Linked DNA regions of Homo sapiens: all the other regions are linked to region 2. Evidence: promoter capture Hi-C in 16 types of primary human blood cells and fetal thymus (Javierre and others, 2016). All regions are on one chromosome and are shown on one strand. The core of a region is centred on a gene start or on the middle of the fragment in contact, and the rest is flanking DNA. Distances in the headings are between cores, read along the strand shown. Region 1 has its middle 20 kb from the start of KRT78. Region 2 holds the start of KRT7 (keratin 7). Region 3 has its middle 3.5 kb from the start of KRT18. Region 4 has its middle 19 kb from the start of KRT18. Region 5 has its middle 9.9 kb from the start of KRT8. Region 6 has its middle 17 kb from the start of EIF4B. Region 7 overlaps KRT79 (keratin 79).

Evidence for each region. The method cuts DNA at HindIII sites, captures the fragments that hold promoters and counts their contacts. A CHiCAGO score of 5 or more calls a contact.
Region 1: a fragment that was not itself captured here is called in contact with the fragment with the promoter of KRT7 in region 2 in 1 of 17 cell types (endothelial precursors); the score reaches 6.2 in endothelial precursors.
Region 3: a contact is called between a fragment that was not itself captured here and the fragment with the promoter of KRT7 in region 2, in 2 of 17 cell types (endothelial precursors and M2 macrophages). The highest score is 6.3, in endothelial precursors.
Region 4: a contact is called between a fragment that was not itself captured here and the fragment with the promoter of KRT7 in region 2, in 3 of 17 cell types (M2 macrophages, M0 macrophages and naive CD4 T cells). The highest score is 6.9, in M2 macrophages.
Region 5: a contact is called between a fragment that was not itself captured here and the fragment with the promoter of KRT7 in region 2, in 1 of 17 cell types (M1 macrophages). The highest score is 6.5, in M1 macrophages.
Region 6: a contact is called between a fragment that was not itself captured here and the fragment with the promoter of KRT7 in region 2, in 1 of 17 cell types (M2 macrophages). The highest score is 5.6, in M2 macrophages.
Region 7: a fragment that was not itself captured here is called in contact with the fragment with the promoter of KRT7 in region 2 in 1 of 17 cell types (fetal thymus); the score reaches 5.7 in fetal thymus.

The regions. Positions count from the first base shown.
Region 1 is chr12:52,867,885-52,871,058 of GRCh38, forward strand. No RefSeq gene overlaps it. Among named protein-coding and RNA genes, the nearest start is that of KRT78, 20 kb to the left of the region's middle. RefSeq lists enhancers at 2,150-2,650, 2,651-3,151, 2,655-2,704 and a silencer at 2,465-2,544. The HindIII fragment of the contact is 4,084 bases long and covers 1-3,174 here.
Region 2 is chr12:52,231,883-52,234,811 of GRCh38, forward strand. It overlaps KRT7 (keratin 7), which reads left to right and starts at 1,361. Exons shown (of 9, transcript NM_005556.4): 1 at 1,361-1,738. The coding sequence starts at 1,415. It also overlaps the pseudogene TMT1AP1. RefSeq lists an enhancer at 1,947-2,922. The HindIII fragment of the contact is 10,919 bases long and covers 1-2,929 here.
Region 3 is chr12:52,944,278-52,947,054 of GRCh38, forward strand. It overlaps a transcript of KRT8 not described here. Among named protein-coding and RNA genes, the nearest start is that of KRT18, 3.5 kb to the right of the region's middle. RefSeq lists enhancers at 1-72, 1,262-1,857. The HindIII fragment of the contact is 1,627 bases long and covers 676-2,302 here.
Region 4 is chr12:52,967,014-52,969,930 of GRCh38, forward strand. No RefSeq gene overlaps it. Among named protein-coding and RNA genes, the nearest start is that of KRT18, 19 kb to the left of the region's middle. The HindIII fragment of the contact is 7,174 bases long and covers 1-2,917 here.
Region 5 is chr12:52,913,443-52,916,450 of GRCh38, forward strand. It overlaps a transcript of KRT8 not described here. Among named protein-coding and RNA genes, the nearest start is that of KRT8, 9.9 kb to the left of the region's middle. The HindIII fragment of the contact is 8,808 bases long and covers 1-3,008 here.
Region 6 is chr12:52,987,824-52,990,870 of GRCh38, forward strand. No RefSeq gene overlaps it. Among named protein-coding and RNA genes, the nearest start is that of EIF4B, 17 kb to the right of the region's middle. The HindIII fragment of the contact is 7,088 bases long and covers 1-3,047 here.
Region 7 is chr12:52,820,053-52,822,918 of GRCh38, forward strand. It overlaps KRT79 (keratin 79), which reads right to left. Exons shown (of 9, transcript NM_175834.3): 8 at 2,293-2,327; 9 at 1,356-2,025. The coding sequence ends at 1,820. Among named protein-coding and RNA genes, the nearest start is that of KRT4, 7.4 kb to the left of the region's middle. The HindIII fragment of the contact is 2,485 bases long and covers 212-2,696 here.

The DNA of each region.
Region 1 (3,174 bases), core at 573-3,072, 640 kb after region 2:
CAGGGCAGCTCCCAACCACCAACAGAAGTTTAAGCCCCTCTCCAGGCTTTGGGAGCACTTTGCTACCTGCCCAGGCAGGCACTACCCTAGGGCAAGCAGGCCACTCCCTGCCAGGGGGAACTGAGAGGTGGGGGGTAGGGGGTGGCAGCTTCAGAACACACAACCAACCCCCTTCCCGGGAGGCAGGCACTCCACCCCACCCCGCATCTCTTCAAGAAGACAAAATCAGGAAAGAGGGCTGGGTGGGGAGGGCATCTCAGGAGGAAAGGGTCACTTAGAGGCAGGGTTTGAATGTCAAGAATGTCCCTTCCTTTCATTCAAGGGTCCCAAAGAAGACCATTCTTCCAGGAAGTTGTCTCAGTTGTCAGTAGTATTATATGTATCAAGAATAATTAGGCCAGGTGCAGTGGCTTACGCCAGTAATCCCAGCACTTTGGGAGACCAGGGCAGGTGAATCTACTTGAGCCCAGGCATTCAAGACCAGCCTGGGCAACAAAGTGAGACCCCCACGTCTCTACAAAAAAAAAAAAAAAAGGAAATTTGCTGGATGTAGTGACTCATGCCTATAGTCCTAGCTACTTGGAAGGCTGAGGCAGGAGGATCACTTGAACCCAAGTGTTTGAGGCTGCAGTAAGCCATGATCGCACCACTGCACTGCACTCAGCCTGGGAGACTGAGGGAGACCCTGTCTCAAAAAAAAAAAAAAAAAAAAAAGAAGTAGAATTATCACTTAATGTTCAACTACTACATGCCAGGTGCTTTACATAGCATACCTCTGATTAATCGCATATTATAGATGGGGAAACTGAGGCTTGGTTGTCCTAGATCACACAACCAATAGTGGCAGAGTGAGAATCTGAACCCAGGACTATCTGTAAAGCATTTCTCAGGTCTATGCCTGCATCTGTCTGTTCTCCAGCTGGAATAGCCACCCCTCCACCAGAGGGGATGGAGGAATCCAAAGAGAGAATGCACTCAGGCCAGATGGGGCAACTAGCAGAGCCATGGGCTGGGCAGCTGGTGAAGGCTCCAGTGAAGGGGAGTGTAAGGGGCCTCGGGAAGAAAGGGAGAGAGATTGTTAAGTGAAAGAAGGGATGAGGAGGGGGGCCAGGCCTCTGTGCCACCTGATTGAGAGGGCAGGCGCATGGTTGCATGCAGTGTGGGAGGGAATAGGGTGCAGAGATGGTGGAAAGGAGGCCTGTGGCTGAGCCCAAGTGCCTACTTCCCTGTGCTGTCACTGCCCCAGGGAGGCCTGGGCCATTTGCCTCAAAGCCAGTGGTGGGCCAGGGGCCTCAGACCCCAAGGAGTGTACATGCTGGGAGCTTCCTGAGCAACCAAGAGCCTCCAAACTCTGGAACGTGCCAGGGTTTCATTCCTGGAGCCACCTCATTCCCAGCCACAGAGAGGAGTGCTCAAGCCCCAAGGGTCTCCAGGGAAGAGAAACTCAGTGGGACTCCAGAGTGACCAGCCAAGAAGGTTCCCAGAGGGGGAACAGAGAAGAGGGGCACCTGGCTGGAGATTCAGGAGACAGGAGATGGGCAGGGAGCAGGGAAGGTGCGGAAAGCAGCAGAGACAGCAGGGGAGGGGAAATGAAGAATGTGCGAGGAGGAAACTGGAATGAAAGTGCCAGCTGGGGCTGGAGCACATCACTTTGAGGAGGAGACAGAGCAAACCTCACCTAAGGCCACCACCCCCAGCCCCATCCCAGCTTCCCCAGGCCCTGCTAAGTGCCAGGAAGAAGCAGTGTCAAATGCAAGGAGGAGCAGGGCGTCAGTTCCCCACAGCCCCTTCCAGGTCTCTGGAGCTCTATTCCGGAAAGGAGAGGGGAAAAGTGTCACTTGAAGCCCCCAGGCCTCATGAAGGCCTTTTGCAAGAGGGAGGCACAGAACTACATCAAACCCCCTTTAAAAGTTTCTTGGCAAGCCTGACCCACCACAGGGTAATAGGCTGGTGCTGCCACAAAGGGGACTGAAGTTAGGTGACTACAGCCATCTCTGAAAGGACAAAGTCAATATACAGAAGGACTAGGTCCAGGGACCCTGGTCAGGCAGGGATAGGTGGCCCCATGGAAGCTGGGAAATAGTCAAAATGTCTTCTCTAGATCCCCCTCCCACATTTGACCCTCTGCCCCAGTCTTTTTGTGCCAAACCACAGCCCAGAGTCCCCATTCTCTGGGACCTCTCAGAGGAACTCTGCTCTCTAGGTGGTGGGGGTGGGGCCCCCGTTACATTATTTTCAGACTCACTAAACACCTATTAATTTGTAGGGGGCAGGAAGACTGGGAAACACTAATCCAACCCCATGGGAGCCATACAGAAACCATATGAAAAAATGAGGATAATGGTCCCTGCCATGGGTTATAGTGACAATTGAGGTTTCCAAGTACTTAGCACATGCCTGGCGCAGTTGGTTACTTGTGGGGAGGGGCAGAGAAACGGACCCTAACGCACACAGACAGGTAGAGAAGAGGCAGACAATTGCAGGGCTGCTGGAGACAGTGCCTGGGCCCAGACACCCTCTGGCACTGGCCAGGCTCATTTGCATGTCATTTGCATGTGCTCTGACACTTGTCACTCCTGTCGCTTCAGAGCCTCTGGGTCACACATTGTCTCTGTCCCTTCCTCATGTCACTTCCTGGATTCCCAAGGGCTGAGGGGACCCCACAGAGAGAAGAGAACCCCGAGTCTGGGGGTCAAGGAGCCTGAGGGAGGACCCGGAGTCTGAAAAGGGTGGGTGCTTTGGCCGCCTGGAAGCCTGGCTTAGGGCGACCCCTGCAGGGCAATCCTAGAATGGAGGGAGGAGGCGGAGAGGTGAGCTCGGGCTCCCCCCAGCTCCCAGGGCGGCACCAGCCTGGCCCTTTTACCTCCAACACGCCCTATGCTCCCTGGCACCCTGGAGTCTGAAGGCAGTCCACCGACCTGGGCCAGATAGAATCCAGAAACTCACAGCTGCCCCAATTAGCTAAAACAAAGGGGGTCAATGTGGGTTGTACCAAGCATCAAAGCAGGAATATCTGGGGGCTCCAGGCCATCAGCAACACCATCCAGATACCACTGGACCTGCACCAGTGCCTACCCTGGGTGCCACAGCCCCATCCTGCCACCCAGCACTGGAAGGGATTGTGATTTTAACTGGGGAAGAATTTAGGGAACAGAGAGGATTGTGAGGGACTGG
Region 2 (2,929 bases), core at 111-2,610:
TTTAGCCTCACTGGAAGTCCTTGTGCTTTAACTGAAATGGCCAAGCAGGAAGGACATTCCGTCCCCACCCTTGTCTCCCCCAAGGGCTTAGGTCTGAGGTAACGAACCTGGCCAGCTTATTGGGAGGGGCTAGAGGTGGGCTAAGGGCAGACGGAAGCCAGGCCTGAGAACAGGGTGTGGCAAGCATGGCTGGCCCTACCGGGAAGTGAGGCCAACACTCAGGCTTTGTCCGGTATTCGGTTCCAGCACTAGGATTACCCCTCTTGACTGGGTTTGAAACTGCTGGGAATTGTTTGGTGGTGGCTTCACGGGAGAAAGATGATGAAAGCTGAGGGCCTTTAAACAGGAAAATGGTGGAGGGAGCGGGAGGAGAGTTGAGTGCTAACAGAAGCACACGCACTCAGGCAGGCATGAAAATGTGTGCCATTGTGTAGCCACAGCTGCCCCCTCGCCCAGGATGCACGCACAGACCCCCATCTGTGTAAGCAGGCTCAGACATGCGGGTGCATATGCCTGGGGGTGTGAGCACAGCAGAGCCCAGAGGCCTGCAGGCGTGTGCACACATCCACAAAGTGTCCACACATCCACAAAGTGTCACAAATACACACAAGTGTCCCCTTCCTGTACAGGGACGCATAAAATAAATGGGCAGGAATATGAGTGGAGGGTCCGGGAGGTGAGGGTCCAGGGTAAGCATTCCCAAGGTCCCTGGGATTCCGATGCCTACTGGAGTGGGGAGGGGAGGAGCCAGAGGTGCGGTCGGTCGTGTGTCTCTCTCAGCCTAGTTTCTATGGGAAATGAAGTAGGAAGGAACGCAGCCAGGGAAACTAGCTGGGCCAGGAGGGGTCAGACCCCTGAACAAGTGAGCTGATCTCTCAAGGAGGAGCTGGATCGGTGTGAGGGAGAGCGGTAAGGAATGCCTTTCTGGCTTCAGCAGCCTGGAGGATGGGGACGTCTGGGCGTTGACTCCTGGGTTGGAACTTTTCAGCCCACCCCTTCCCCCAGTCTCTTGCCACTGGGTCTCTCTGCTTGGGCCTCAGGGATCTCTAGGTTCTTCACTCCCTCTCCAAGCATCCTCCTCCGGGAAGCCTTCCCTCACTGAGTCCGTTTCCAATGGGCTGGAACTGCGGTCCCCCGCTGTTCTCTGCGGCCGTCTAGGGATGGCGCTCCTGCCTACTCCGGACCATCCCTGCTTGGACTGAAAGCCTGGGCTTCGGCGGGGCGGGCGGGCAGAGGGCGGAGGGCGGCCCCAGGAGGGGCCTGGCAGCAGAGAAAGGTGGCCCGCGGCAGCCCCGCCCCTACCTGTGGAAGCCCAGCCGCCCGCTCCCGCGGATAAAAGGCGCGGAGTGTCCCCGAGGTCAGCGAGTGCGCGCTCCTCCTCGCCCGCCGCTAGGTCCATCCCGGCCCAGCCACCATGTCCATCCACTTCAGCTCCCCGGTATTCACCTCGCGCTCAGCCGCCTTCTCGGGCCGCGGCGCCCAGGTGCGCCTGAGCTCCGCTCGCCCCGGCGGCCTTGGCAGCAGCAGCCTCTACGGCCTCGGCGCCTCACGGCCGCGCGTGGCCGTGCGCTCTGCCTATGGGGGCCCGGTGGGCGCCGGCATCCGCGAGGTCACCATTAACCAGAGCCTGCTGGCCCCGCTGCGGCTGGACGCCGACCCCTCCCTCCAGCGGGTGCGCCAGGAGGAGAGCGAGCAGATCAAGACCCTCAACAACAAGTTTGCCTCCTTCATCGACAAGGTGAGCGGGACTGGACCTCGCCTCTCCTCGAGCCGCGCTCCAGACCACACCAGCCGCCCTAACTAGCCCTGCCTGCGCGCGGGCCAGGCGCTGGGGAGCACTGCCGCCCTTCTGTCTTTCCGCCAGTGTTGGGGACACGATCTGGGGGTCCTTCCTCCTTCGCATGAACCCCGTGGCTATTTTATCCCCTCGGTTTCCAAGCCCTCCCTTCCAGCAAGCTGCCCAGCTGCCCCTCCCTTTCCTCCCGGAGTGCGGGCCTGAGTCCTGTAGGGCTGCCCTCGCTGGCTGCCTGTTGGTCACCTGGACCAGTTTTGCCTCGGACTAGGAGTTCCAGAGGCCTAGGCCAGGAGTTCTCTCTCTGGGACCCTTTCCCTGAGAGAGGACCGTGTGGAGTCAGGAATGGAGTTGGATGGCACGCCCTTCCCAGAGGGGGAGACCCAGGCTCTCTCAGATGCTGATGCGGATGCAGATGCTGGAGATTAGAGCGGCAGTCGGTGGGGCGGGGGAGGGGGGGGGGCTCCCGCCCCTCCCCTCCCCCACCTGCCTGGTCCTCCAGCCTCCCTTAGGTGGCAGGAGGAGAGGTTATACCTGCCCTTGAAGACAGCCCAGTTGGGGGCAGGGAGTGGCAGAGAGGGCCCTCAAAAAGGGGTCCATTTTGGAGATATTTTTCCTGGCTGTTGGCCTCCGCCACACATGGGGCCGCTGGAGGGGGCGAGGGCAGACTTGACTGGTGGGTTTGGGAGGAGTGCTGCCAAAGCCAGGAACTCAGGGCTGGCCCTGCTGGGCTGTTCTGGCCAGGGCCCCCTTCCTCAGCTTAGACGAAGTGTACTCCCACACCCGCCTCCCTCACGTTCTCCTTTCCTTCGCCATTCACCCAGACCGGTCTTTTAGATTTCATAGGGGCCTCCCCAAGCTGCTCCAGGCCCAGGTTCCCCCATGTGTTGAGCTGCACCGTCTTACTCTCTGTGGTCCCCAGGGCCTGGGGCCCTGAGCTGCTGGTTTTGCAGAGGCCTCTATTGCCTCCCACCTCCAGTCATACCGGCTACTCCTTAAGGGCCTTTGTGGGCTCCAGGCTGGGGTCATTTTACCATGGATTGACTGTCCTGAGGCCTTGCTGGAGAAAGGGGAAGGAGAGAAAGGATATTGAGGAAGGAAGAGAAGAGGTCCCAGACAGAAGGGAGGGCTGGGCCT
Region 3 (2,777 bases), core at 239-2,738, 710 kb after region 2:
TAGAGACAGGGTCTTGTTATACTGCCCAGGCTGGTCTCAAATTCCTGGCCATAAGCGATTCTCCCACCTCAACCTCTCAAAGTGCTGGGATTACAGGCATGAGCCACCTGGCCGAATCCAGGTCTTTTGACACCAAGTGCCCTATTCATCCCTTTGCCCTCCCCTAATCTCTGGGCAGATTTGAGTGAGGCGATAGGCTGGGGGATATGGCATTGGGATACTGGGGTTGCACCTGAGGAGAAGCCAACAGCACCAGGGTCAGAATGGGCAAAGGACATAAGCACAGGCAAGGCCATTCCTGGTGGGGCTGGGCCAGGGAGCTGAGGGGCTCCTAGAAGGGCCAGGTTCCCCGACTTCTCTGAGCTTCAGCGCCTGGAGGTTTCTGGGCAGCCACACGCTTCTCAGCGCTGACCCTTCCTCTTCCTTTATCCTTGGAAAATAACCCCTAGGGCACAAACCCAACCGAAGCAATGATACTAAGTGTCAGGGCATTCCTCGACTCTCCCACCCCTGGGGAAGAGGGCCTGGCCCAAGCCCTGAGAACCCGTTCCCACCTCCACAGGCAGTGCCAGGGACTCCAAATAGGGTGCTGAAATTCCAGAAGTCTTGATATCAGACTGGGTCCTGCACCCAGCTGCCACCCGCATCCTCCCCCTGCTCCGCAGCTGCCTCTGAAGCTTGTACCCTTGCCCCCACCTCTTGTCTCTCTGCAGTCTACCTGACTGCACTTTCTGATGACCCCCACTGACCTCTCCTAGCACCCCATGTTTATTAATTACTTAAACCTAAAGTATTTACGGAGCTCCACCTATGTGCCAGATGCAGGGCTGGGCAGGAGGATTCCCATTCCACCCCAGATTCCTTTTCCTTTGGGTTCTACCCCAGATCTCCCTCTGTCTCAACAGCTCTACCCTTAACTCAGCAGCCCTGGGATTTCTCCTGTGGGAGGGCCCCCTGCATGGGTATACCCTCCACTGAGAGTAGCTGAAAGGAGCCCAGGGGAGCCTCCCAGGCGATCCCTTCCTCCCTCCAGCCCACCCCACCACAGGGCCTTCTCACTGTCTCCAACACACTGGAGTCACCCTCAGTCTTTAAAGAAGAGGATGGGAATCAGTCTCTCCCTGTTTTGTGTATAGACCCCATCCTTACACCTCAGTTGCTGTTCCGAACACCTCCCTCCTCCAGGCTGAGCAAGGAATTTCCAGCCTAAATGTTAAAGCAAAGGCGGAAGGACTGCAGGCCTTCCAATCCTCCCTAATCCTCTCATCTCTCCACCACCTAGTTTCCCCAGAGCCATCAGCTCAAGCCCTTTGTGGGAGAATGTGGAGTGGGCAGTAAGAGCTGACCCACCCCTATCGGGTCATCTCTGAGTCTACTCTGAAGTTAAACCTGCCTCACAGGTTCCCACTCCCCTTCTGCTGGACGCTGGAATGCAGGACTGATGGTGGGTGGAGAACCATTTCCCCTCTTTCCGGATTCCCCCCTGCCGAGGCTCATTACTCTTTGTGTCTGTTCTGGGAGCTTCTCACCAGGGCCCCTCCTGCTCCACCCTTTCCCGGGACTGTCCTCACAATCACGCCATCCCCCTTTCCACCTTGCTTCCCACCCCCACCCCAGAACCCTAGTGCTGGGAATCTGGAGGCCGAGACCTTCACCCCAGCTCTCCAAGAGGCTCTCTGACAAAGTGAAAAAGCCCTGAGCCACAGAGGAATCTGGAAGTGGTGGAAAGGGGCAGGCTGGTGCTGGAAGCCCGAGGTCGGTATTTGCCCCATGCTGCAAGAAGTCAGGAATGTGGCCATCGACATCAGTAGGAGAGATAAAGTCTAGCTGGCAGCTCTCCCTCTCCAGCCCCCACGCTGCACCTCCACAGGTCCCAGAAGTTTCCTAGCAGTTGGGGTGGGGCAGGAATCAGACAAGGACCTGGGAATTAGCTTGGAGAAAAATTCTAGAATCTGTTTTGATTGCTGGTAGATTTCAAAGTGCCCCAGGGTTTTTAAATGACTCAGAGAGACAGACTTCAAACCCCTTGAGCCCGTCTTTCGAATTAAATTGACCCCCTTTATCTGCCCTCCTGTATATATTGAAGCCTTCCTTACTTTGAAGGAAGGCTCCAGTACAAATAATTAGTATTTGTTTGATGAATGAGTGAGTGACAATTTACACTCACATTCACTGCCACCTGAGGAAATAGACTGGACAGGTCTTACTGTTTTCCCTGTACAAGTGAAGAAATTGAAGTTCAGAGTTAGGTGACTTCCCCAAGGTTACACAGCTAGCAAAGTATCCAGGCTGGCTGACTTAAAGCTTAGCAATAACAGTAAAAGGCAGTACGTAGCTTGTTGACTCCACATACTTTATTATAAAATACTGCCCAACTTGACAGTTCTGGAATCCAGTGGGGGAATATAAAGGTGAAAGCAGGAGAGACCCCTCTGACTGGAACCTCTTACCTCCCAGAAGCCTTGTATGCAAAACCAGTGGGCATTCATTTGTATGTTATTTTGCATCCCGTTTGCCTCCCAGCCTTCAGCAGGCCCCGACCCTCCCCTGGCCAGCTTCCACCCTGACTGCCCCCTGGCTGGCTCCCATTGAGCACTGTGGGGCTCTCCCCACCATTAGGTGACAGATCAGGAACAATCCAGGCTCAGGCTCTTTATCTGTGCTCTGCCTCCCACCTGGCAGGTCCACTGGCCAGGCTTTTCCAGGGTCCCTTCTCTCCCAGGTCTGCCCTACTATTTGTCCTCCCCTTCCCCCTCAGCTGGTAGCTCGATAAGAAT
Region 4 (2,917 bases), core at 299-2,798, 740 kb after region 2:
GTCTCAAAAAAAATAGTAATAAAAATAAAAATATACTTACCAGCTCGGTGTGGTGGCTCACACCTCTGATCCCAGCACTTTGGGAGGCCGAGGTGGGTGGATCACCTGAGGTCAAGAGTTCGAGACCAGCCTGACCAACATAGAGAAACCCCGTCTCTACTAAAAATACAAAATTAGCCAGGCGTGGTGGTGCATGCCTGTAATCCTAGCTACTTGGGAGGCTGAGGCAAAAGAATCACCTGAACCCGGGAGGCGGAGGTTGCAGTGAGCCAAGTTTGTGCCATTGCACTCCAGCCTGGGTGACAAGAGTGAAACTCCATTCTCAAAAAAATAAATAAATAAAATAAAATAAATAAACAGATGGTTCAAGTTTGGCCTCTCCCAGTAGGAATCCTCTTTGTGGCCTTCCTAACATCTGGCCTCCGTTTGAAGAATTTATGACAGTATAGCCCCTGTTGGATAATAATTGTATAATTACTGGAACATTATTGTTCCTTCTACTGGGCTGAAATCTGCCTCCTACTAACCTTCTAAACTCAGCTCTGCCCACTAGAGTTACACAGAACTCCCTCTTCCATTAGATTTCAGCCATAAGTGATTATTCTTCCCCTAACCTGTATAAAAGCAGCCCCAGTCACGGTGTAAGGATTTAGCTGCACTGCTGGCCTCAACCTCACCTGCCTGAATGAGCTGGAAAATAATTATCTACACAGAAACAGCCCAAGGAATTAGAATGATAGTGATGCTCAGATCCGGGGAGGCTGTGTCCCCCTGAAGGCCCTGGTCAGATCCTGGTGAAGTGGATGGTGCTGCCACAGGAGGGATGTAGGGTAAACTTCTCAGAGACTCAGGGCACTCCAGTGATCTGGGCCCAAAGCACACAGTTCCTTTTCCTCTCCCCACAATCCACACTGGAGCAGCAGGCTCTAGTGGGCCCCTCCCAGGCTGGCAGAACTTTCCCTATCACCCACTCCCCAGAAGCAAAAAAAGTTTAAAAAGCACCAGCCTAAGGCTGGGTGCAGTGGCTCATGCCTGTAATCCCAGCACTTTGGAAGGCTGAGGCGGGCAGATCACAAGGACAGGAGTTCAAGACGTGCCTGACCAACATGGTAAAACCCCGTCTCTACTAAAAATACAAAAATTAGCCAGGCATGGTGGTGCATGCCTGTAATCCCAGCTACTCGGGAGGCTGAGGCAGGGGAATTGCTTGAACCCGAGAGGCAGAGGTTGCAGTGAGCCAAGATCATGCCATTGCACTCCAGCCTGGGCAATGGAGCAAGACTCCGTCTCAAAAAAAATAAATTATTGTACATTTAAAAATAACTAAAAGAGTATAATTGGATTGTTTGTAACATAAAGGATAAATGCTTGAAGTGATGGATGCCCTGATGAGATTATTATGCATTGTATGCCTGTATCAAAATATCTCGTGTACCCTAAAATAGATACACATACTGGGTACCCACAAAAATTAAAAACTTTTTTTTTTTTGAGACAGAGTTTCACTCTTGTTGCCCAGGCTGGAGTGCACTGGCTCAATCTCGGCTCACTGCAACCTCCGCCTCCCAGGTTCAAGTGATTCTCCTGCCTCAGTCTTCCGAGTAGTTGGGATTACAGGCGCCCACCACCACACCTGGCTAATTTTTTTTTTTTTTTTTTTTTTTTGGATTTGGAGTAGAGACGGGGTTTCGCCATGTTGGCCAGACTGGTCTCGAACTCCTAACCTCAGGTGATCCACCTGCCTCGGCCTCCCAAAGCGCTGGGATTACAGGCATGAGCCACCAGACTCAGCCAAAATTAAAAACTTTAAAAAATAAATTAATAACCACAGCAGTAGCTAGTAGCTAATGGCTACCAGATTGGACAGGACAGTGCAGCACCAGACTGTAAGCTCCCTTTGAGCAGAGACTGGACTATCTTGTTCACTCTTATGCCCTGATACATAACACAATTCCAACACATAAACAGCAGGTTGTTATTTTCTTTTTTAAAGACAAAAATTTGAAATTGTAATTTTTATTAAATTGTAAATAAAATGTTATTTTATTTTATTTAATAACCTATAGCATTTGCCAATATCCAAGGTATAAATACTGCTGTCATGGTTGATTTAAAATGGTTTAATTCTGGGAAGCAAAATTTTCAAATTTAACAATCTTCTCTTACTAGCTTTTGAATGAATAAGCAAATGAATGAACAAATAAATGAGCAAATAACAAACCAAGAGGAGTCTCTGCATGCCTCACCCAAGGAAAAGAGGACAAAGGAGAGTAGAAGAATATTTCAAGATGCCAGCAGTCCTCTCACTCTCTTTGCAGGTCCTCTTTGTTCCAGGAAAGAGAACTTAGTGGGAGAACAATTGAACTTCCTCAGCTTCGCTTCACACACACCCCAGCTTTAAGAAAGCCCAGGAAGAATTTGTTTTTTTTTTTTTTTTTGAGACGGAGTCTTACTCTGTCACCCAGGCTGGAGTGTAGTGGCGTGGTCTCGGCTTCTCAGCTCACTGCAACCTCCACCTCCCAGATTCAAGCGATTCTCCCGCCTCAGCCTCTCCAGTAGCTGGGATTACAGGTGTGCACCACCACGCCCAGCTAATTTTCGTATTTTTAGTAGAGACAAGGATTTCACCACGTTGGCCAAGCTGGTCTCAAACGCCTGACCTCAAATGATCCACCTACCTCGGCCTCCCAAAGTTCTGGGATTACAGACATGAGCCACCTCACCTAGCCTTTGGATTACAGACATGAGCCACCTCGCCTAGCCTTTTTTTCTTTTTAAGGAAAAAAAGAAAAATAAAATCTCATCTTAATCTGCTCCATTTTTTTTTCTTTTTAAAGAAACTTTCCCAAGTCACTTAAACAGTCTTCGTAATGGGAAGGCACTCAAACTATAAATCTCCCTGTCATTTAGGAATGCT
Region 5 (3,008 bases), core at 1-2,500, 680 kb after region 2:
AATTTTCAGGAGGGCAGAGGTGCATGATGATAAGCAGGTGTTTTTGAGCACGTGTCTTTATATGCATGTATCCATATAAATACAAAGCACACATGTTTGATGGGTTATCTCCCAGAACAAACAGCCTCACAGGCCCACCCCCCACCCTGTGGGCACACAACCTCAGCCTATAGCACACACGCCCTCTTGTCCCTCACACACTCTCTCAGGTTCACACACACCCCACCTGCCCTCTCACTTGCATGGCCTGACGCACACGCCAAGGTGCAGTACCACCTCACATCCTCATCTCAGGCACAAGCATGTGCGTGTACCACCCGTCAGAGTCCCGTGCACACCACCTTCCTACGAACGTCACACACATACCTGTGCACACACAGCCATATATAACACACATCCAAACTCAAATACACGGTTACAGGTTTGTTTGTTTTTTCTTTTATACAGACAGAGGTTTCACTATATTGCCCAGGCTGGTCTCAAAATCCTGGCCTCAGGCTGAGAGAGGTGGCTCATGCCTCTCTAATACTAGCACTTTAGGAGGCCAAGGCCAGCTGATTACCTGAAGTCAGGAGATCAAGACCAGCCTGACCAACATGGTGAAATCCCGTCTCTACTAATAATATAAAAATTAGCTGGGCATGGTGGCAGGCACCTGTAATCCCAGCTACTCGGGAGGCTGAGGCAGGAGAATCGCTTGAACCCAGGAGGCAAAGATTGCAGTGAGCCAAGACTGCCCTATTGCACTCCAGCCTGGGCGACAGAGCGAGACTCTGTCTCAAAAATAAAACAAACAAAACAAAAAAAAAATCCACCGGGTGCAGTGGCTCACGCCTGTAATCCCAGCACTTTGGGAGGCCGAGGCAGGCGGATCACCTGAGGTTGGGAGTTCGAGACCAGCCTGACCAACATGGAGAAACTGTCCTTACTAAAAATACCAAAAAATTAGCATAGTATGGTGGCGCATGCCTGTAACCCCAGCTACTCAGGAGGCTGAGGCAGGAGAATTGCTCGAAGCCAGGAGGTGGAGGTTGCAGCGAGCTGTGATCATACCATTGCACTCCAGCCTGGGCAACAACAGTGAAACTCCGTCTCAAAAACAAACAAAAAATCCTTGCCTCAAGCAATCCTCCCACCTTGGCCTCCCAAAGTGCTGTGACTCCCAAAGTTACAGGTGTGAGCCCCAGCTCCCAGCCAAAGGATACACATTCTTGATTGCAAGTGGCTGAAACCCAACTCAAACAGACTTAAGCATAAAAAGATCATTTCTTATAATTGAGAAGTTCAAGGGTGCATTTGGCTTTCAGCCTAGCCAGATAAGGGGCTCAGTGATATCATCAGGACCAAGACTCTCTTCCTGTCTTTTGGCTATTTTCCTCCATGTTAGCTTCGTCCTCGGGCAGGCCATCTCCCTGCTGCAGGAAGGGCGACCACTAAGGGAGCACCTCTTTCCCGATGCTTCCTGCTGAAGTTCCAGGGCTGACTCTCCAAGGCTGATATAGGTCACATGCTCATCTCTGAACCAATCCCTGTGGCCAGGGGAATAGAATACTATCATGTTGACTAGACTAGACCACATAACAAGACCCTGTGGAGGGGTGATCAGCCCCACCCAACCTATAGAGAAAGGGGAAAAAAAATGTGATTTGGGCCAGGCGCGGTGGCTCACGCCTGTAATCCCAGCTCTTTGGGAGGCAGAGGTGGGCGGATCATGAGGTCAGGAGATCGAGACCATCCTGGCTAACACAGTGAAACCCCGTCTCTACTAAAGATACAAAAAATTAGCCGGGCGAGGTGGCGGGCACCTGTAGTCCCAGCTACTCAGGAGGCTGAGGCAGGAGAATGGCGTGAACCCCAGGGGACGGAGCCTGCAGTGAGCCGAGATCTCGCCACTGCACTCCAGCTTGGGCAACAGAGCAAGACTCCATCTCAAAAAAAAAAAAAATGTGATTCACCAAAAGACCAGGAAGAAATGCTGGACAGGGCCAGGAACCATGCCTCACGCCTGTAATCCTAGCACTTCAGGAGGCTGAGGCGGGTGGATCACCTGAGGTCAGGAGGTCGAGACCAGCCTGGTCAACATGGTGAAACCCCATCTGTACTAAAAATACAAAAAAATCAGCCGAGCATGGTGGTGCATGCCTGTAGTCCCAGCTACTTGGGAGGCTGAGACAGGAGAATCGCTTGAACCCAGGAGGCAGAGGCTGCAGTGAGCCAAGATCCCACCACTGAACTCCAGCCCAGCCTGGGTAACAGAGCAAGACTCCGTCTCAAAAAAAAAAGAAGAGAAAAGAAAAGATAAACAAATGCTGGACAGGCAGAAACAACAGATGTTCACTACATATGCTAACCAAAATGTACACCAATAAAGACGTGGAACCAGAGAAGCCAGGTATAAAGATATCCGTGTACACACCGAGCCCTTCTATAAATACAAATACTACCTGGCCAAAGTCTACCTTCTGTACCTTATCAACGGAATATTGATTTCAGATAAATAAATGATTCAGATGTATGCTATAGGACTTCAGGGGAAGGAGAGAGCCCTTAGATCAAGCTGAGCTTAGGAAAGTAAGATATGGATGGAAAGATCTGGAAATGTGATAAGCCACTGGACAGGAGCGGGATTCCTATGGAAGAGTAGAAAAGCTAGATATTGGGGAGGAGGGTGGGACTAGGGGTTTCAGAGGCCAGACAGAGCTTTTTCTGCAGGCTGCAGGAAGGGAGGAGCAGGATGATGAGCTTAAAGCAGTGCTTTAGGAAAATTAAGCTGGCTGGGGTGTTCAGGATAGATGGTAGGGGCAAAAACTAGGGGCAGGAGACTAGAAAGGGGGCTACTGCAGAAAGCAGGTCTGGAGGCCTGCAGTGTGGTAGGAGCAGGAAGATAGGGATGGACTCAAGCTAGAACCAACAGGAGGTGGCAGTTGACTGCATGGGCGTGAGTCCAAGGTCACTCAGCTGCACTTCTAGCAGCTCCCTGCTGAACCCTAGCACCTTCTGTTCCAGCT
Region 6 (3,047 bases), core at 224-2,723, 760 kb after region 2:
GGGAGGCCATGGTGGGCAGATCATGAGGTCAGGAGTTCGAGACCAGCCTGGCCAACATGGTGAAACCCCGTCTCTACTAAAACTACAAAAATTAGCCAGGTGTGGTGGCGGGTGCCTGTAGTCCCAGCTACCCGGGAGGCTGAGGCAGGAGAATCGCTTGAACCCAGGAGGCGGAGGTTGCAGTGAGCCAAGATCGTGCCACTGCACTCCGGCCTGGGCAACAGAGCGAGACTCCATCAAAAAAAAATACAAAAATACAAAAATTAGCTAAGCATGGTGGTACATGCCTGTAATCCCAGCTACTTGGGAGACTGAGGCAGGAGAATTACTTGAACCCAGGAAGCGGAGGTTGCAGTGAGCTGAGATCATGCCATTGCACTCCAGCCTGGGTGACAAGAGCGAAACTGTGTCTCAGAAAAAAAAAAAGAAAGAAAGAGATGTTTGTTGTTGGCCGGGCGCGGTGGCTCACGCCTGTAATCCCAGCACTTTTGGAGGCCGAGGTGAGTGGATCACCTGAGATCACCTGAGGTCAGGAGTTCGAGAGTAGCCTGGCAAACCTGGTGAAACCCCGTCTAAAAATATAAAAATGAGCCAGGTGTGGTGGTGGGTCCCTGTAGTCCCAGCTACTCCGGAGGGCTGAGGCAGGAGAATTGCTTGAACCTGGGAAGTGGAGGTTGCAGTGAGTCGAGATTGCACCAGCCACTGCACTCCAGCCTGGGCGACAGAGTGAGACTCCGTCTCAAAAACAAAAAAGAAATGTTTGTTGTTTAAGCCACCCTGTCTATAGTAATTTGTTACAGCAGAACTGACTAAGACAGACACAAGATCAAGGTGGGAGAAAGTGTAACTTGACCCAGCTCTGTGATGAGTTTATCCATAGCTCCTTCCTCTATTACATTTACCTTTGATTTGTCTATTAGATAATACTCCACTATTTATATATTCATTACTCATTTATCCACAGATATACAATAAAAACATTAATCAGGTGAATTACTTTCTTATCAATACCTGCCAAGAAAATACAACTAACTATAAATTTGTAATAAACTCCCAAGGGGCAGAGGTTGGGTTTTTAGTTGCTTCTCAAACATACCCCATCATTCAAAAGTCTGAACTGGAAAGTAAGAAGGAAAAGAAGGAGAACTTTAGTATGCTAGTGTCAAACAAGCCTGTCCTAATAAGCAACCCCAAACTGCTCTCCTGTCTGGGTCCAGAATTGGGTTTGGTTTTGAAATACCACGTGGGAAATTTCTAGCCAAAGTCCTCACCAGTTCCTCCTTTGACTAACAATCTCCAACCCAGGAAGTGGGAACTACAGAGTCTTTGGTAGAGGTGGTTGGATTTACTCAAGAAAAAGCCCCACCTGAACTCCCCAAGCAGAAATCTTCATTAGAAAAATAAACAAAACGACCGGGCGTGGTGGCTCATGCCTGTAATCCCAGCACTCTGGGAGGCCGAGGCAGGCGGATCACGAAGTCAAGAGATCGAGACCATCCTGGCCAACATGGTGAAACCCCATCTCCACTAAGAATACAAAAATTAGCTGGGCGTGGTGGCACACGCCTGTAGTTCCAGCTACTCAGGAGGCTGAGGCAGGAGAATTGCTTGAACCCGGGAGGCAGAGGTTGCAGTGAGCTGAGATCACACCACTGCACTCCAGCCCAGTGACAGAGCAAGACTCTGTCTCAAAAAAAAAAAAAAAAGTAGAAGAACATTAAAAAAACAGGTTTAGGCTGGGTGCAGTGGCTCACACCTGTAATCCCAGCACTCTGAGAGACCAAGGCAGAAGGATCACTTGAGGCCAGGAGTTTGAGATCAGCCTGGGCAACATAGCAAGACACCCATCTATACAAAAAATTTTAGAAGTTAACTGGGTGTGGTGGTGCATGCCTGTAGTCCAGCTACTCAGGAGGCTGAGGCAGGAGGATTGCTTGAGCCCAGGAGTTCAAGGTTGCAGTAAGCCATGATTGCACCACTGCACCCTAGTGTGGGCAACAGAGCAAGACTCTGACTCTAAAAAACAACAAAAACTGCTGGACGTGGTGGCTCATGCCTGTAATCCCAGCACTTTAGGAGGACGAGGTAAGTGGATCACCTGAGGTCAGGAGTTTGTGACCAGCCTGACCAACATGGCGAAACCCCATTGCTACTAGAAATACAAAAATTAGCCAGGCATGGTGGTACACACCTGTAGTCTCAGCTACTCAGGAGGCTGAGGCAGGAGAATTGCTTGAACCCAGGAGGTGGAGGTTGCAGTGAGCCAAGGTCGCACCACTTCACCTCAGCCTGGGCAACAGAGCGAGACTCCGTCTCAAAAAAAAAACACACACACACACACACACAAAAACAAACAACAAAAAAAAACCAAAACAGAAATGAGGTTTACATGTTACAAGGCCCTGAAGAAGAGGAAAAAAACTGTGTATAAAATACCACCTGGATAAAATAAGCCAAATACACAACTAAATGGGAGACCAGGCCAACAGGATGTCTTGGGAAGATGTCTTGAAGTAGGAGGGGCTTCTCCTGCAAAGGATTTGGCAAGACTAAGAGGGAGCAGGCATTCCAGATGAAGAGAATGATGAGTAACATGGAAAAGCCCAGCGTCCGCTCCGGGCCAGGCAGAAGTTGAGGTGACAGATATAGTAGGAAAAGCAAGCTGAGGGCAGTTCATGCAGAGCTTTCAATGCTGGAGAGTAGGGCCTTGGAAAGAGATGTGGTGACACAGTAAGAGCGCTCTTTCAGGGAGATTTATCCAGGAACTATGTGCTAGGTGGATGGGCGGAGATGAACTCAAGTGGGACAATTCCTGAAGCAGCACAGAGGGGAAAGGAAAGTCATAGTTAGAGCGGAGTTCATGGGGACGGAGGAGAAGGGAAGGATAGGAACCCCTACCACCTTCTCCCTTGCTCACCAAGTTCCAGCCACAACAGTCTCCTTGGGCCGCAAACATGCCAAGCACCACCTCAGGGTCCTCGCCTGCCAAGAACACACTTTGCCTTTGCAACACTCTTCCCCAGATATCACTAGGCCTTGCTCTCACA
Region 7 (2,866 bases), core at 204-2,703, 590 kb after region 2:
ACACAGTTGGCACTCAGTGAGCATTAGCAAGTATTCCTCAAAGTGTTGTACATGGGGTGGACTATACTCCATCTGTCTGAGAAGGGAAGCTAGAGACCACCCAAGCTGGTGAGGCAGAGCTGACCCTAAACCGCTAGGCCTTTGTGTTCCTAAGCTGGAGGTTAGGGTTTGGCTGAAAATCCCTCTGCTGGCCTTCCACAGCCCTGGAGGAAGCTTTCTCAGGGCTCTTCGGGGCTCCTCTGAGGAGGACAGAGTGATCAGGCCGGAAGAGTGTGGGATGCATCCCAGCAACTGCCAGGAGCCCTAAGGTTGCCAAGGAAGGGAGCGGAGTGGTGACAGCCTCGGGTCGGGCCAACTGGTTTGGTAGCAGGGTGGGGAGGGCCTGAGAGGTGCAGGGTTGAGAGGCCAGCCAATTGGGGAATCACTTGGGTACAGCTTGAGGAGTGGGGTCCAGACTCAAAGTAGAGAACTGTGGAGATGAAGAGGAAAGAAGGTGATACCAAGAGACGCATGGAGGGAGGAGCAGTAAGATTTGGCGAGTGATGGAGGCAGGAGTAGGACGGAGGTAGCTTCTGGGGTGACAGGACAGAGGGCTTGAAATTGCAGCCCTGGACACTACTGACCCACCTCCAGCCAGCTGGATGACTACAGCATGAGAGGTCACTTCTGTGAGCGTGAATCGCCTCACCTGTAAACTGGAACACCACATGCCCACTACTGAACCTAGGGCTGTGGTGATGGTCACAGGCAAAGTAATGTATGTGTAAACCACAAAACCCAATTAAGTGTGGATTTTTCTTGCCGACTGGATGTGGGGGCTGAGAGAGACATCACTGAGGCCAAGAGGATAAGCTGGGAATCCAGAAGTCAGGGAGTGGGAAAGCAAAGAAACCTGATTCCTGAAAGGGCCTCTATAAGCCAGATGCTTTACACATGTTCTTATCACAACCCACTTTTACAAAGGAGGAAACTAAGGCTCAGAGAGGTTAGGTAACTTGACCGAGGTCATACAGCTAGTAAGTGGCAGAACTTGGATTTAAACCCAAGTTGCCTAGTTCTGAAGCCTAAGACCTCTCCACTGAACAAAGCATGCTGTCTGCCCCTACAGAGTTAGTGGGAGGCTGAACAGGCACCAGGGGTGGCTGGTTAATAGGCAGCCACTTAGCCAGGTCTGGCCTTGAGCAGCTTACATATTCCCTCTGAGCCTTGGTCTCCTCTTGTGAGCCATGTACAGCCCTGGAGTGGCGATGGTATCAAACTAATGTACCTAAGTAAGCATGGCGATTGGGATGTGGTGAGTGTGTGATTATTGCTGTGTCAGGCATCAGGATGTTAATCAATGGACACAATTTCAGTTCCCCAGGCAGGACAGACTGCAGCCACAGACAGCTAGCTGCAGTTGCACCATTTATTGAGACACAGACAGGGAAGGGGGATGTGGGTAGATTCAGGGAGAGGGTGGGTCTGGTGGGGGACTGGGGAGGTTGAAGGGTCTTTGGGGACCACTCCCAATTTCTCTCTCTCCTAATGGCTTGAGAAATTCAGCCTCCTCTCGGTGGTCAAAAGGTCACCCCCAAGTCACCCAAGCACATCACTCAAGCTGGCAACTTTAACCTTCCCTCCCATCCTACTGCAGGACCAAGGAGAAAACCTGAGTAGATTTGAGCGCTTCCCAAGATGCAAATAGTCTGGTATGAAAATACCCTGGGTCTGAGGTCCCCTGGCTGTTCCTGCTCCTGAGAAGTGACTGGAAAGGACAGCAGAGGTGGGGTGAGGAGGGCAGGGACAGGATTGCAGGGGCCCTTGCAGGGCTCAGCAGCTAATACCTCTGGCTGGACGTCTTGACCGTAGTGGTCTTCCGCAGGATGGAGGTGCCCGCAGAGACTGGCCCTCCCTTGACGGTGCTATAGCCCACATTTGTGCTGAATCCACCCTTGGTGGCCCCCCCACTCCCACCCAGGGAGATGCCACCTCCAAAGCTGGCTGCGCCACCTCCGCACACAGTGGTGGAGTTGCCAGTCACAGCTGCAAAGCAAAGGGTCTGGATTAGTCAGGGCGGCCATGCCAGAGAGGGCTGGGGGAGACCCAGAAATCAGTGGGGAATCAGAACAAAATCAAGCAGCAGAGCTATGGGAAATGGATAGAGAAGCCCAGAACTAGGACCCTCTGAACCTGTCTCCAGGGGCTCGAATGGAGGAGAGCATGCTTTAGGACAGGTACAGGTTGCATAAACTGAGCAGAGTTCTGGGGCCTGGCCAGGGGTGGAGCAGGAAGTGGGGAGTAAATACTCACAAATGCTGACTGCACTGGGACATTCTCCAGACATCCTAGGGGACACAGAAAGGCCAGGAGAGCAGTCAGTTATCCCTGGTGCCCACATGAAAACCCTCTCCTTCCCTCTGCCTTTACATTGGATCCACTCAGTGAATCCTGATGACAAGACCAGGAAACATGAGAAGTATGTGTATAGGGCTGTGCCCAGGTCCAAAAGCCAGTGCTGCAGAAAGGGCAGAGCCACCAGTAGGCTGTGCCAACTCCCATCCTCCCCTTTTCTTTCCTCTCTGCCCATGTGGGCTACGGACAGCATCCCTGCCCCAATGGAAACAAGCCCACGACCAGACAGAGCTGCCTAGTTTCTGCCCACTTTCTATTTCATGCTTTTCCTAAGGACAGAGATGGTGGATTTTTTTTTCCAAAGCTTCCACTGCTGGTGAAATCTGCTGGTGGAAGAGGAAGTTCCATTCCTACCGGGCTGTCAGCCACAGTAAAGATTAACAAGAGTTGTGCCAACCAAGGAGAGGAGTGATGGAGGCAGTGGGCACAAGCAGATTTTCCCCCCGCGTGAGTCAGGATCTTGCTCCCTGGT